Linked DNA regions of Homo sapiens: region 2 is linked to region 1. The links are contacts of gene promoters, found by promoter capture Hi-C in human tissues and cell types (Jung and others, 2019). All regions are on one chromosome and are shown on one strand. Each heading gives the region's core, a stretch centred on a gene start or on the middle of the fragment in contact. The rest is flanking DNA. Distances are from core to core; before and after follow the strand shown. Region 1 holds the start of XPO7 (exportin 7). Region 2 overlaps LZTS1 (leucine zipper tumor suppressor 1).

Evidence for each region. The method cuts DNA at HindIII sites, captures the fragments that hold promoters and counts their contacts. A contact is called where the count stands out against the background at its distance.
Region 2: a contact is called between a fragment that was not itself captured here and the fragment with the promoter of XPO7 in region 1, in 1 of the 25 tissues and cell types used here (dorsolateral prefrontal cortex).

Annotation. Positions count from the first base shown.
Region 1 is chr8:21,916,716-21,922,660 of GRCh38, forward strand. It overlaps XPO7 (exportin 7), which reads left to right and starts at 2,947. Exons shown (of 28, transcript NM_015024.5): 1 at 2,947-3,073. The coding sequence starts at 3,056. RefSeq lists a silencer at 2,864-3,303. The HindIII fragment of the contact is 7,284 bases long and covers 518-5,945 here.
Region 2 is chr8:20,256,034-20,261,978 of GRCh38, forward strand. All of the region lies in intron 1 of LZTS1 (leucine zipper tumor suppressor 1), which reads right to left. Among named protein-coding and RNA genes, the nearest start is that of LZTS1-AS1, 17 kb to the right of the region's middle. The HindIII fragment of the contact is 3,047 bases long and covers 1,473-4,519 here.

The DNA.
Region 1 (5,945 bases), core at 1,697-4,196:
AATGCAGTGGCACGATCTCGGCTCACTGCAACCTCCGTCTCCTGGGTTCCAGCCATTCTCCTGCCTCAGCCTCCTGAGTAGCTGGGATTACAGGCGCACACCACCATGCCTGGCTAATTTTTTGTATTTTTAGTATAGACGGGGTTTCACCATGTTGGCCAGGCTGCTCTCAAACTCCTGACCTCAGGTGATCCACCCCCCTCAGCCTCCCAAAGTGCTGGGATTAAAGGTGTGAGCCACCATGCCCCGCCTCAACAATTATTTACTGAGCATCTACTCTGTGCAGAGGTACTAGGGATACAACATAGACAGAATCCTTGTTTATACTATGTCTGCTTTTAGTTGGAGGGACTGATAATGAAAGAGTAATAATATGTAGTTTTGGACAGTGATCAATGCTGTGATAGTGATAGGCACAGGGGACAACTTTCAAGAGGGTGGTGAGAAAAGGCTCTCTGAGAGGTGACAAGTGAGCTGAAAAGTCCATGAGGAGAGTGAGCCAGCCATTTCACGATCTGAAGGGAAACCAATCCAGGCAGAAGTTACTGCAAGTGCAAAGGCCCTGAGGCAGGAGATCCTGGCTTTGCAGAACTGCAAGGCCAGAATGACCACAGAGCATTGAGCCAGAGGGGGCATGGTAGAGTGAGGTCAGCTCATACGACCTCTTGAGCCACAGCAAAGATTCGAATTCTAAATGCAACATGAGGCCACTTAAGGATTTTAAGTAGGAGTGTAAATTATCTGAATTATGATTTTAAAGGAATGTTCTGGCCAGGCGCAGTGGCTCACACCTGTAATCCCAGCACTTTGGGAGGCAGAGGCGAGTGGATAACCTGAGGTCAGCAGTTCCAGACCAGCTTGGCCAACGTGGTGAAACCCTGTCTCTACTAAAAATCCAAAAATTAGCCAGGTATGGTGGTGGGCGCATGTAATCTCAGCTACTTGGGAGGCTAAGGCAAGAGAATCGCTTGAACCAGGGAGGCGGAGGTTGCAGTGAGCAGAGATGGCGCCATTGCACTCCAGCCTCGGCAACAGAGCAAGACTCTGTCTCAAAAAATAACAAATAAATAAAATAATGTTCTGCAGCGTCCAGCTATATGGAAAATGGGTTATCAAGGGGCAAGACAGGAAGCAGGGAAACTAATTAGGAATCTATTACCAGAGCACAGGAGAAAGGTAATGGTGGCTTGGACCAAGGTGTTAACAGTGGAGATGGATGGAGAAGTGGTCATATTGGGTATATATTAGATATAGATTGAACAGGACTTGCAGGTGACTTGCATGTTGGGGACTGATAAGACTTGAAGAACCAACTCCTGAGTGTTTATTAGGAGCAACTGGATGAATGGTGGTACCATTTACTGAGGAAGGGAAGACACAGGGAGAAACACGGGGAGGTTGGGGTGCGGGGGTGGGGGAAGGGAGGGTGGACAGAAATTTGGGCCTGGCCCACTGTGAAACTGTTACCTCTATTCAGTCCAGTAGGGAATCCAAAGAATTTCCATTGCAATTGTGACTCTGAGAATATTTCATTGCCCGATGCCAGGTTCAGAAAGCCACTGACCCCATCACCCCGCCTCTTTATACGCTCGGAGCTAATGATTGGACGCTGGGAGGTTTTGGGGAAAAACAAAAACCCAACATCTGAAAAGGTCTATGCTCGCTAGAAGTTAACAGTCAAAAGCTCTGCCACTTAAATCTTCTGCCTCTTAAATCTTCTCTGAGTCAGCCTAATTGGCAGAGCCTAATTTGCATACAGAACCCTAGCTGCAAGGAAGTTTGGGTAATGTAGTTTCCAGGTGCCCTACCTCTGCAAACCAGGAAGACCTACTAGGAGGACGGAAGTCGAAATGAATGCTGAGCACCGGTCCACTACATCCACCAAGGGTGTGTAATTCACTACCACCATCATTTGCATATGATGGTAGTCCCCTGTAAATACAAACTTCAAACAATCAGTGCTCTCAGAATCCAGCTATGATCTAACCTGGGGGCCTTAAAAGGAAGCCACAGTGGAATCCAATGGAAAACAGGAACCGGCATTATCTAACAGATAATTCCTAGTGAGGAAGACTGGAATTGGCCTCAGCATGCAGGGGCTGACCTTATCTGACCCAGAGAGATGGCTTTCCCACTCATACCTCCACAAGACCGAGCCTAGGGGTCCTAACCACCAGCCCCGCTGCCTCTTCCAGCATCTGACCCTCTCGGGAGGCAGTCTAGAGTATTGGCAACGAGGACAATGTCTTTGGGAAGCCAGAACTGTGCCTTCGTATGTTTTGATCATCACCACCATTCGGTGGTTATTTCCATGAATGTTTATCAAGGACGAAAGGACAGAAATGAAAAACACGAGATCAACCACTGGGGTTGCTGGTGAAATCCAGACCAGAGAGCGATGGCCCTGGTCCAGAAAGCTAGACAGACACAAGCACAGAATCGGCCCCCGTTGAGTAGAGGGCATTGGAAAGTAAGGAATCTCGCAGGCAGCCTAGGTGGGGTGTGGGGGGTCCCCGTAGCTGCAGGGTGGGGTGGGGGTGGGGGTGGGAGACGTCCAGGGGCGAGTCAAGGGGGAAGACGGTTGGGAAGAGAGGAAGCCACTGGGTGCAGGGGTCCCGGGGCGGCGACAGACCTCGGCCCCCATCCAGGAGCCCTCACCACGCAAACGAGCAGAAGGCAGCGCCAACTCCCACTCCAGCGCCCGCCTGCCGGAGCGAGCGCGGCCCCTTTAAAAACCATGTAAACAAAGCTTTGTTCCCCCAGCTGCCCCTCCTTCGCGCTCCCCCGGCCCGCTCCTTCCTCCCACCCGGCGTCTCCGGGCCGCTGACGTTGCCCGCGCCTTTACGCCGTCCCAGCGGTGCTGCGCATTCTCCAACCACGGCCCGGGCCGCCGGGGCCTGCGCAGCTGAGCGGCGCTACGCCACGAGCGCAGCGCGACGAGTCCCCAGCGCGCAGGCGCAGCGGCGACGGCGTCGGCGGCGGCGGCGGCAGCGGCTCCGGCCGAGGTGCGCGCTGGGGGGGAGGGGGGGCCGGAGAGGAGCATGAATGGAGCAAAATGGCGGATCATGTGCAGGTGAGAGGAGCCGCGGGGGGGAGGGGGCGACCACGAAGAGCGGCGAGTGGAGTCGGGGGTGCACACGGCCCACAGGGCGCCAGCCGGCTCGGGACTCGGCAGGCCCGCGCCGCCGCCACTCGGGGCTCTGGAGCCGCCGCCCGTCCCGGAGCCCCGGGGCCTTTCCCGCCTCCCGGGCCGGGGGCCTTCTCCGTCCCCTCCCACCCGGTCCCACACCTCGCGCGCGGGGCTGCAGGGACAGGAACGGGCATCCCGGCGCGCGCAGCCCACAACGTTCGTCAGTCACTGTCTTCGTCCCCGGGGGAGGCCTCCGTCAAGTCCTCGGGCCCCCCCGCCCGCCCCCCGGTGAAGCGAGGGGGACCCCCTTGCTGACTTTACTGAGGGGGACGCCCCCATGACGCCCGCCATCCCTCAGCAGATAACAAAAAGGAAACCTCGCGCTGATAAACCTCGCTCTCCGGAGTCTTTCCCGCCGCCTTCCTCTCACGCCCCGGAATACGAGAGACCCCCCAGCAACCCCGGCCTCCTTCCCCCTCCCACGGATGCGCCCTTCCCTCCGACACTCCAAATCGTACAGCCCGGAGGGCCGAGCTCCCCGGTCTTCCAAAATGGGTGCTCAGGCCTCGGCCCGCCTCCCCTCGCGTCCCCCTAGCCACAGTGAAGGAGTTGAGCGCCCACACCTCCTATGAAACACGGGGTGGAGGGGGGTGTGTCTGAAATGAGAGATGCAGGGTTGGGTGCAGACGTTGCTCGGGAGGGTCTTGATCCGGCTCAAGAGCTGCTCCTAGCGTGCTGTGGGGCCAGGCCACTCTCCTCAAAGACAGGCACAGGCCCTAGAAAGGGACAGCCCATACCAAACCCAGTAGCAGATGGAGGACTGCAGGGTTTAATTTCTTGCAAACTAGATAAAGTTTTTCCTGTCTGTGCCAGAGATCTGATATTTTTATGACAGTTATTGATGCACATCCATTGTGGGGAACCTTCCAATTTTCTAGGTAACCAAGTGCACAGGTTTTGTGTTGTGGCAAGGAAAGATTAGAGGGCAAGAAGTGTCGCCTTTATATTCTGTGGCATCATTCCTCAAGTAAGAAGAATGATCTCATTCTTAATACGTCTACAAGAATCTGGAGTGGTGTGACTTCTGCCCCTTTCTTTGGAGAGAAGGGACTAAATAAAAGACTTAATTTTCAGGCCAGAGATCAGTAAAGTAGATCTTCGGAGTGTGCGGGACAAGTTGTCAGGACAGAATTATAGCAAGAAACGTAATCACAGGTGGAAAACCACGGGATTTGTGTTTCAAAGCCAGTACCTTGGCTTAATTCAGAAGTGACAGTAAAAGTTGATACAAGGAGATGATAATAATGATAATAATAATAGTATAGCACCTTGCGTTTTATAGCAGTCATTTCTAAGAAGCATGAAATATTTTATGTGATTTTTAAAAATTCTTGGATCTTACAAGACTCAGGCAGGAATTACTTCTGTCATTTAAAGGAACAAAAACCAAAGCACAAGAATGATAATGAGATTTGGTTAAGGTAAGTCTAAGTGTCCCAAAGTCTTTGGAGTTTGGGTCCAGTGCGCTTCCTTACTGGGGGTTGGGGGGATGTCTATGAGCATTCTAGAACAGGCTTTGAATAGATAGCCTTTGTGAACCATGCTTCGGAATGCAGAGGGAGTCAGTACTTTTATGAATATACATCGTGCTATTTGCTGTTTCCCGTAAAGAAATATCTCTTAATGTGATCTCCCACATTTTCGAAGCATAAAGGTTGTCATTCCTGTGAAAGTCAGGATGCATCAAAGCAATCTTCACAGCATTTGTCGCTCCAACGAAGGTCTGTCTTATTTTTAGTAAGATGTTGTTCTCCCACTCACCACTCAAAAATCTACGGAAGTAAGAATTTATTAACTTTTCAAAACAAAGGGGAGCATGTTGATCAGTGTTTTATTGGTACCCTTTATTTACTTTTAAGAGCTGCAATCTGTTGGTCTAAATTAGTGCTTAGTGGTCTTCATATCAACGGGGTAAGTTTGTGAGTGAATTTTTTTCCCTTTAGAGAGAATGGGACATACTGCTTTTCTTTGTCAGACCACTAAGTGTTAATAGTATTGGGCACTCACAGATGTTAAGGTGGTACTTTATTGTGGCAGAAAACCTTCTTATGAAAAAGATACACGCTTCCCTAGGTATAATGAGTAAATAAAGGATTCATTAAAGACAGTCTGCAATGCATTGAGGGGAGGGTGGCGGGGATATTTTTCTTATAACACTAATCAAACGTGAAGTTTATAAAGGTGTCTGCTACAGATTCATGACTGATTATTGGAGAGTTGCATTTGTTGAACTAAATAGTCGAGTCATTATGTTATCTAGTGCTTTTCTGAACCACCAGGGTGAGCAGTTTTTTCATAATTGAGGCTGAGTGTCATATGATTCTCGGGTTCTCTCAGGCTGATGTCTTGGATATCTCTCTTCTAAGGATATGTATTTTATGGACGATTTTAAGTGCTATAAAACTTTAGTAATGGGAAAATTATAATATTTGGATTGCCCTTTAGCTCTGTTGATGTTACAGGCAAGTGTCTGTAGAAGTGTGCCCTTAAGCAGCTCCTCGATGTGATGGGTTTCTTACTCTTGGTCTTAGATAACCTTATCTAACTTTCACCCTGAAGGCAGGGTGGTTACAAAGCTTTGCGTGGGAGAAAAAAATCAAACTTACTTATGTGTGTTTAATTATGTTTAGTTGCCCTTCCTTTCATGTTTTTTTTAACATATCTAAAGCTGGTAAGTTATCGCAAAGAGATGAAGACAACGCTCAGTGAACAGTGGTGATGAAGAAGATTAAGAAGGATCAGATGTTAGTTTTAA
Region 2 (5,945 bases), core at 1,746-4,245, 1.7 Mb before region 1:
CACTGCACTCCAGCCTGGGCCTGACTCAAAAAAAAAAAAAAAAAAAAAAAAGAAGAAGAAGAAAAGAAAATGAGGTGCAAGTCATATGAAAATCTAGGGGGAGAGGGGTACCAGAAGAAACCCCAAGTATAAAAGCCTGAGTCCCTGAGGCAGAGGGGGCTTGGCTGTGTGAGACCCACATGGGAAGCAGCCTGGCTGGAGAACAATTAGCAAGGCTGGGAAGGAGAAACAGAAACCAGGAGCCAGCAGACATCAGAGAACAAGGAGGCTGTGCAGCTCAAAGAGCTCTGGCTTTGCTTGGGTTGAGACAAGGAGCCCCTGGATGGCTTTAAGCAGCTGACACCTTGATCTGCCTTAGGTTGGGGAAGGTCACTCTGGCTTCCGGGTGGGGAAGAAGCTTATTGAGGAGACGGGGGATAGAAGTGGTGGCCAATTACAGGCTAATAGTCTAGGGTGGTAGTTGTGGATTTAGATGTGGTGGTGGCTCACGTCTGTAATCCCAGCATTTTGGGAGGCCAAGGCAGGAGGATCACTTGAGGCCAGGAGTTCAAGACCAGCCTGGGCAACACAGTGAGACCCTGTCTCTAAAAAACAGTTTTCAATGTAATTTTGAGGTTGAGCTGACAGGACTTGCTAAAGGATCAGATGTAGGGAGTGAGCGAAAGAGAGGAGTCAGGGACAATGCCAAAGAGAGGAGTTTGGTTGAAGACATTCAGTTTGCAAAGCCTATTTGGCATCCAGGGAGTGATGGAGAGTAGGCAGGAGGGTGAGTGGGCAGCTGCTGGGAGCTGCAGATGCACTTGTCAGAGCTGGGAGTGTGGAAGTGGCTATGAGACTAGATGGGGTCACCAAAGAGCGGATGCAGAAAGACAAGAGAGGCCTGAGGATGGTTAACATGGAGCACTCGGCATCTGGAGGTCAGGCAGGTTAGGAGAAGTGAAAAAGAGCAGCAGAGAAGGTTTTCAGGGTGATGTCGATATAGAAGACCTAAGAAAGCCAAGTCAAGAAATTGTTTCCTAAAAATGGTGTCAAATGGCCAGGCGCAATGGCTCAAGCCTGTAATCCCAGCACTTTGGGAGGCCAAGGTGGGCAGATCACTTGAGGTCAAGGGTTTGAAACCAGCCTGGCTAACATGGTGGAACCCCGTCTCTACTAAAAATATAAAAAATTAGCCAGGCAAATTGGGCATGGTGGCACGCACCTGTAGTCCCAGCTACTGAGGAAGCTGAGGCATGAGAATAGCTTGAACCCAGGAGGCGGAGGTTGCAGTGAGCTGAGATCACGCCACTGCACTCCAGCCTGGGCAACAGACTGAGTTCCTGTCTCAAAAAAAAAAGTTGTCAAGTGCTGCTGAAAGTAAGATAACAATTGAGAATTAGTCAATGCATTTGGCCATGTGGAGATCTTTGGTAACCTTGACAAGAGCAGTTTTGGAGGAATGGTGGAAGGAAGGCCTCATTGAGAAGATTCAAGAGAGAAAGAAGGAGAAAGTCATTACAGCCTTAATGTTGAGAAGTACCCAGCCGACTTGGTGTGCATTCTAGTTACATCACCTGCCAGCTATGACATGGAAGGTAAACTGTTTAATATCTTTAACCTTCAGTGTTACAAACTAATTCTAAGACACCCTTAAACTTTTTTTTTTTTTTTTTTTGAGATAGAGTCTCACTCTGTTGCCCAGGCTGGAGTGCAGTGGCATGATCTTGGCTCACTGCAACCTCCACCTCGCGGGTTCAAATGATTCTCCCACCTCAGTCTCCCACATAGCTGGGATTACAGGTGAGCACCACCATGACTGGCTGGCTAATCTTTGTATTTTTAGTAGAGATGGGGTTTTCCCATGTTGGCCAGGCTGGTCTCGAACTCCTGACCTCAGGTGATCCACCTGCCTAGGCCTCCCAAAGTGCCGGGATTATAGGCGTGAGCCACCGGACTGGGCACATTTTTTTTTTAAAGTAATAGGATAGCATCTAATAATCAATGCTTAAACAATAACAACCTTGTCAGTCACCAGACAGGAGAAATTGGGATGTCAGTGCCAGCACATGTGCAGATTCAGGCAAATCTCTAAGTTTAGATCACACAATTTTCAAAGCTAGGAAAGGTTGGTGATTGTCATGCACTGTGAAGTATTTCTTAGTCAAAAGACAGATATCCAATTAAGAAGGGGAAAGCCACAAGTTTAATAAAACAGGAGATGTGGAAGGAGCCTCTGTTCTTCGCTGAGCTCTAAATTATACCATCCATCCTAAAGGGGCTAAAGAAATCCCAGGTGGGACATGGAGAACTGCATGGGCACAGCTGAAAGGGAGCCAGAAACTTTCTGACTCTGTTTTTTAATTTTAATTTTATTATATATATATTTTTTACAATTAGCAGTTGTGCATGGAGACTCTGTGACTCTGAATATCTAGGCTTCGATTCAAACTTGCGTTATCATCCTGAAGAATAAAGAGGTTATGTTATGAATATGTTCTATATTTTGTTAGGAAAAGCATGACACAACAAAACTTCGTTGTGTAAGTTTAATATGTTTTGATGTGAAAAGCTTTTATTGAATTGATGGCTTTGTATACTCGAGGAAATACAGTGAAGCAGCCTACCTCATAGGATCGTTATGAGAAATTTAAGAAATACCACCATAAGATAACAGCTCTGGAACATTTACTCAATACTTAGTACATAGTGGGCACTCAATAAATGCTAGGCAGTGTTATCGGTATCTGTTACTTATATTGTGACCATTGTCCTTGCCAACATCCATCATCCCTATGGATCTGGGGAGCCTCAATGTCCAAACTCACTTTCCAGAGCTAATCCTTTCCTTCTAAATGCAACCTTTCTGCCTCCCATTCCTGCGAGGTGTGACTTAGGAGCACAGGGTGGCTCTGCTGATATAAACTTGACACTGACAAAATGTGTTTTCATCCCCCTAGGTCATCCATCCCTAGCTTAGCTAACACCTCTAGTTCCTATGGGGCGAAAATACTACTCTGGTCCACATGCAGGGGTGTCATTTTGGGCCAAAAGACCCTCCCGTGCTCTGCGCAATATGCTCAGCTCCTCCTTTTTTTGCCATGCAATACACATTGCCGAGCAGCTGTACCTGCAGGGCTGTACAGACCAGACCATCAGCTGTGGCATCGGCAGGAGTTTGATTTGAAAATCAATCTCTCTGAGGTTTCTTCATTTACAAACTGAAAATATTAATATTAAATAGGAACATTAGGGAGCCGAAACAAACAGAAGGAAAATACAAGGCCTGGCATGTAGTAGGCGATCTACAGATGTGTGCACGATATGTGTTGCCTTCAAGCCTATGACACCGCTGGAGGCTATTGACAGTATCAGTGCATCGGTGCTAAATGAATCTGTTTATGGTTCTCATCCATCTCCTCTCACCTCCATCTCCTCTCACCTGGGCCTTGAAGGAGCCTCCCAATGTCTTTCCCCAGTCTGTTCATCAGACACATCTGAAGCGTCCAGGTCATAGCACTTCCTAATGGGAACCCTTCCAGTCTTCCCACTGTGTTAGAGTACAATGCGGACTCCTCACCTTGTCCCGCCATGTCCCAGGGACAGACACACTCATCTCTTTCCTGGTGGGTGAACATACGAAGTCTTGACCCATCCAGGAGACTCTGCACTTGCTGCTGCTTCCCCTGCCTGGAATTCTCCTCCTTGGGCTCTTCACATACATCAGCCTTTCTCATTTTCTAGTTCTCAACTTGAGTCTCATGTCTGCAAGGTGGCTTTCTCCAGTTAATCTTGAAACCCTTGCATCCCTCCCCGATTACTTTCTACCAACCTGTTTATTCCCTGTGTAAGGCTTGCTCTCACCTGTACTAATCTTATTATTTTTTATTTATTTTTAAATTTTAGAAACAGAGTCTCATTCTGTCATCCAAGCTGGACTGCAGTAGGTAACAGTGATCACAGCTCACTGCAGCCTCCAGCTGCTGGGCTCAAGTGATCTTCCCACCTTAGCCCCAGAGTAGATGGGATGACGGCACATACCATTACTCCTGGCTAATTAAATAATTCTTTTGTAGAGACAGGGGTCTCGCTGTGTTGCCCATGCTGGTCTTAAACTCCTGACCTCAAGCTATCCTCCCACCTTGGCCTCCCAAAGCACTGGGATTACAGGTGTGAGCCACCACACCCAGTCATATCTTATTTTATTGATGATTGATTGACTGATTGATTTTTAATTGAGACAGAGTCTCACTCTGTCACCCAGGCTGGAGTGCAGTGGCATAATCTCAGCTCACTGCAAATTTAGGGTTTATTGTGTGTATCTCTACCAGAATCTGAGAGTAAAGGTTTTTGTATCTAGAGCTCCTAGAACAAAAAAAGGGAGGCTAAGGCACAGACTCACAAGGTGGGATGCCGTGGCCCTGGCCACTCAGTGACCAGTGACAGAGGTGGGATTCGAACCCAGGCCCAAATGCCACAATCTCCATGCTAAAATCGCACGCTGCAATTGGGGACTGTAGGTGAGGCCCAGAGATGTTAGGGTTTCTGTCCCAGATAGCAAAATGAGCTTCCTGGGTTAGGGAAGAGGAAGCCTAGAGGAGGAATCAAAAGCAGACTTCTCTAGCCGAGCTTCATTTCCCTTTTGGGCCAATGCCAACAAGATTGTAGGCACTCAGAAGCTGTGTCATTCACCTGGGCAGCAGCCCTGTGCTGCATCCTAGAGGGTCAAGAGGTAGAAGATGGACAATGCCAGGAGCCCAGGAGAGGGGTGACTGAAGAATGGCCACCTCCAGTCCTCCTGAGAGCATTCCTATCCCTTAGCCCCGATACCCAGCTGGCCACTCCCCAGGTCTTGACACACAGAGGAGCTTTGAAGTTTGAGGAGAGTTTGGGATCCACTTGAAGCTAAGCTAATCACCTTTAAGTGTCTAGACTTGTTTCACTGTCAACTTGGAGAGAGCATTACACAAAACTCGGCTGTGTTCCATCCTGGTTCCCAAATCCATCTTCTCACCTGCCCCCGTCCAACCTGCTGTCTCTGCCCTCCATAAGGACAGGGTCAACAGACACATTTTTATTTCTGGGAAACAAATTCCTACTGACTGGGAGCACGTATTTGGGGTGAAAATAAGAAATCACATAGATGTTGGGGATTCAGGAAGGGGACAGGAGGAGGGAAGAAGGATGGAGAGAAGGTAAAGGAACCACAGAGCCTCACACTCCACATGGCATGCTACGTGAGCTCCTACAGAAGGAATCCAGCTAGAGTTGGACTTTAGACCTTAAGAGAAGAGAGAAAAAGAGAAAAGAAACCCAAAGCAGCTGGGACCATCCAGCCTACCCTTCTCAGAATCTGGCCCCAGGACCAGTCCCAGCCCTCACACCCCTCCCTGACATGACCTCCCCTCCACTAGCCCACCTGCACTGTGGATGGCTGCTCCACCAGGACGGGGAGGGGCCCGGGATATTGCAGAAAGCCCTCACTTTTGAGCGGCTTCTACTCAAAAGTAGTGGGAGCACCTGAGCTGCCCCATCCCCAGCCCCCTTCTGCATTCTCCCTCCCAAAGGAAACCAAGGCTCAAGGCAAAGTGACACCTGCCTCTGATGGTCCCTTTCTGGAATGTGGAGAGAGAGGCATGGAGTTGCAAAGTGTCTTTCTGGATGCAGAGAGATGTGAACTAACCTGACTCATCGTCTCATCCCAAACCAACAGTCTGGCTTCCCATGAGTTGAAGCAGCTATGCCTTGGCCCACGCCAAGTCCCGGGTTCTGGCTGGGAAAGGAAGTGGAGGATTCACACACGCCCTCCTCCTCCTCTGCCGCCATGCAGTGAGCAGGGGTCACTCCCCCAGCCGGAGATGTTCAGCCTCCAGCCACCCCGCCTCCTGCCTCCTCCCTCCCACTCAGCTTCTGTTATTTCCCCTCCTGCTCCCTGACATCCTTCCCTCCTTCTCCCCCTCTCCGTCCCA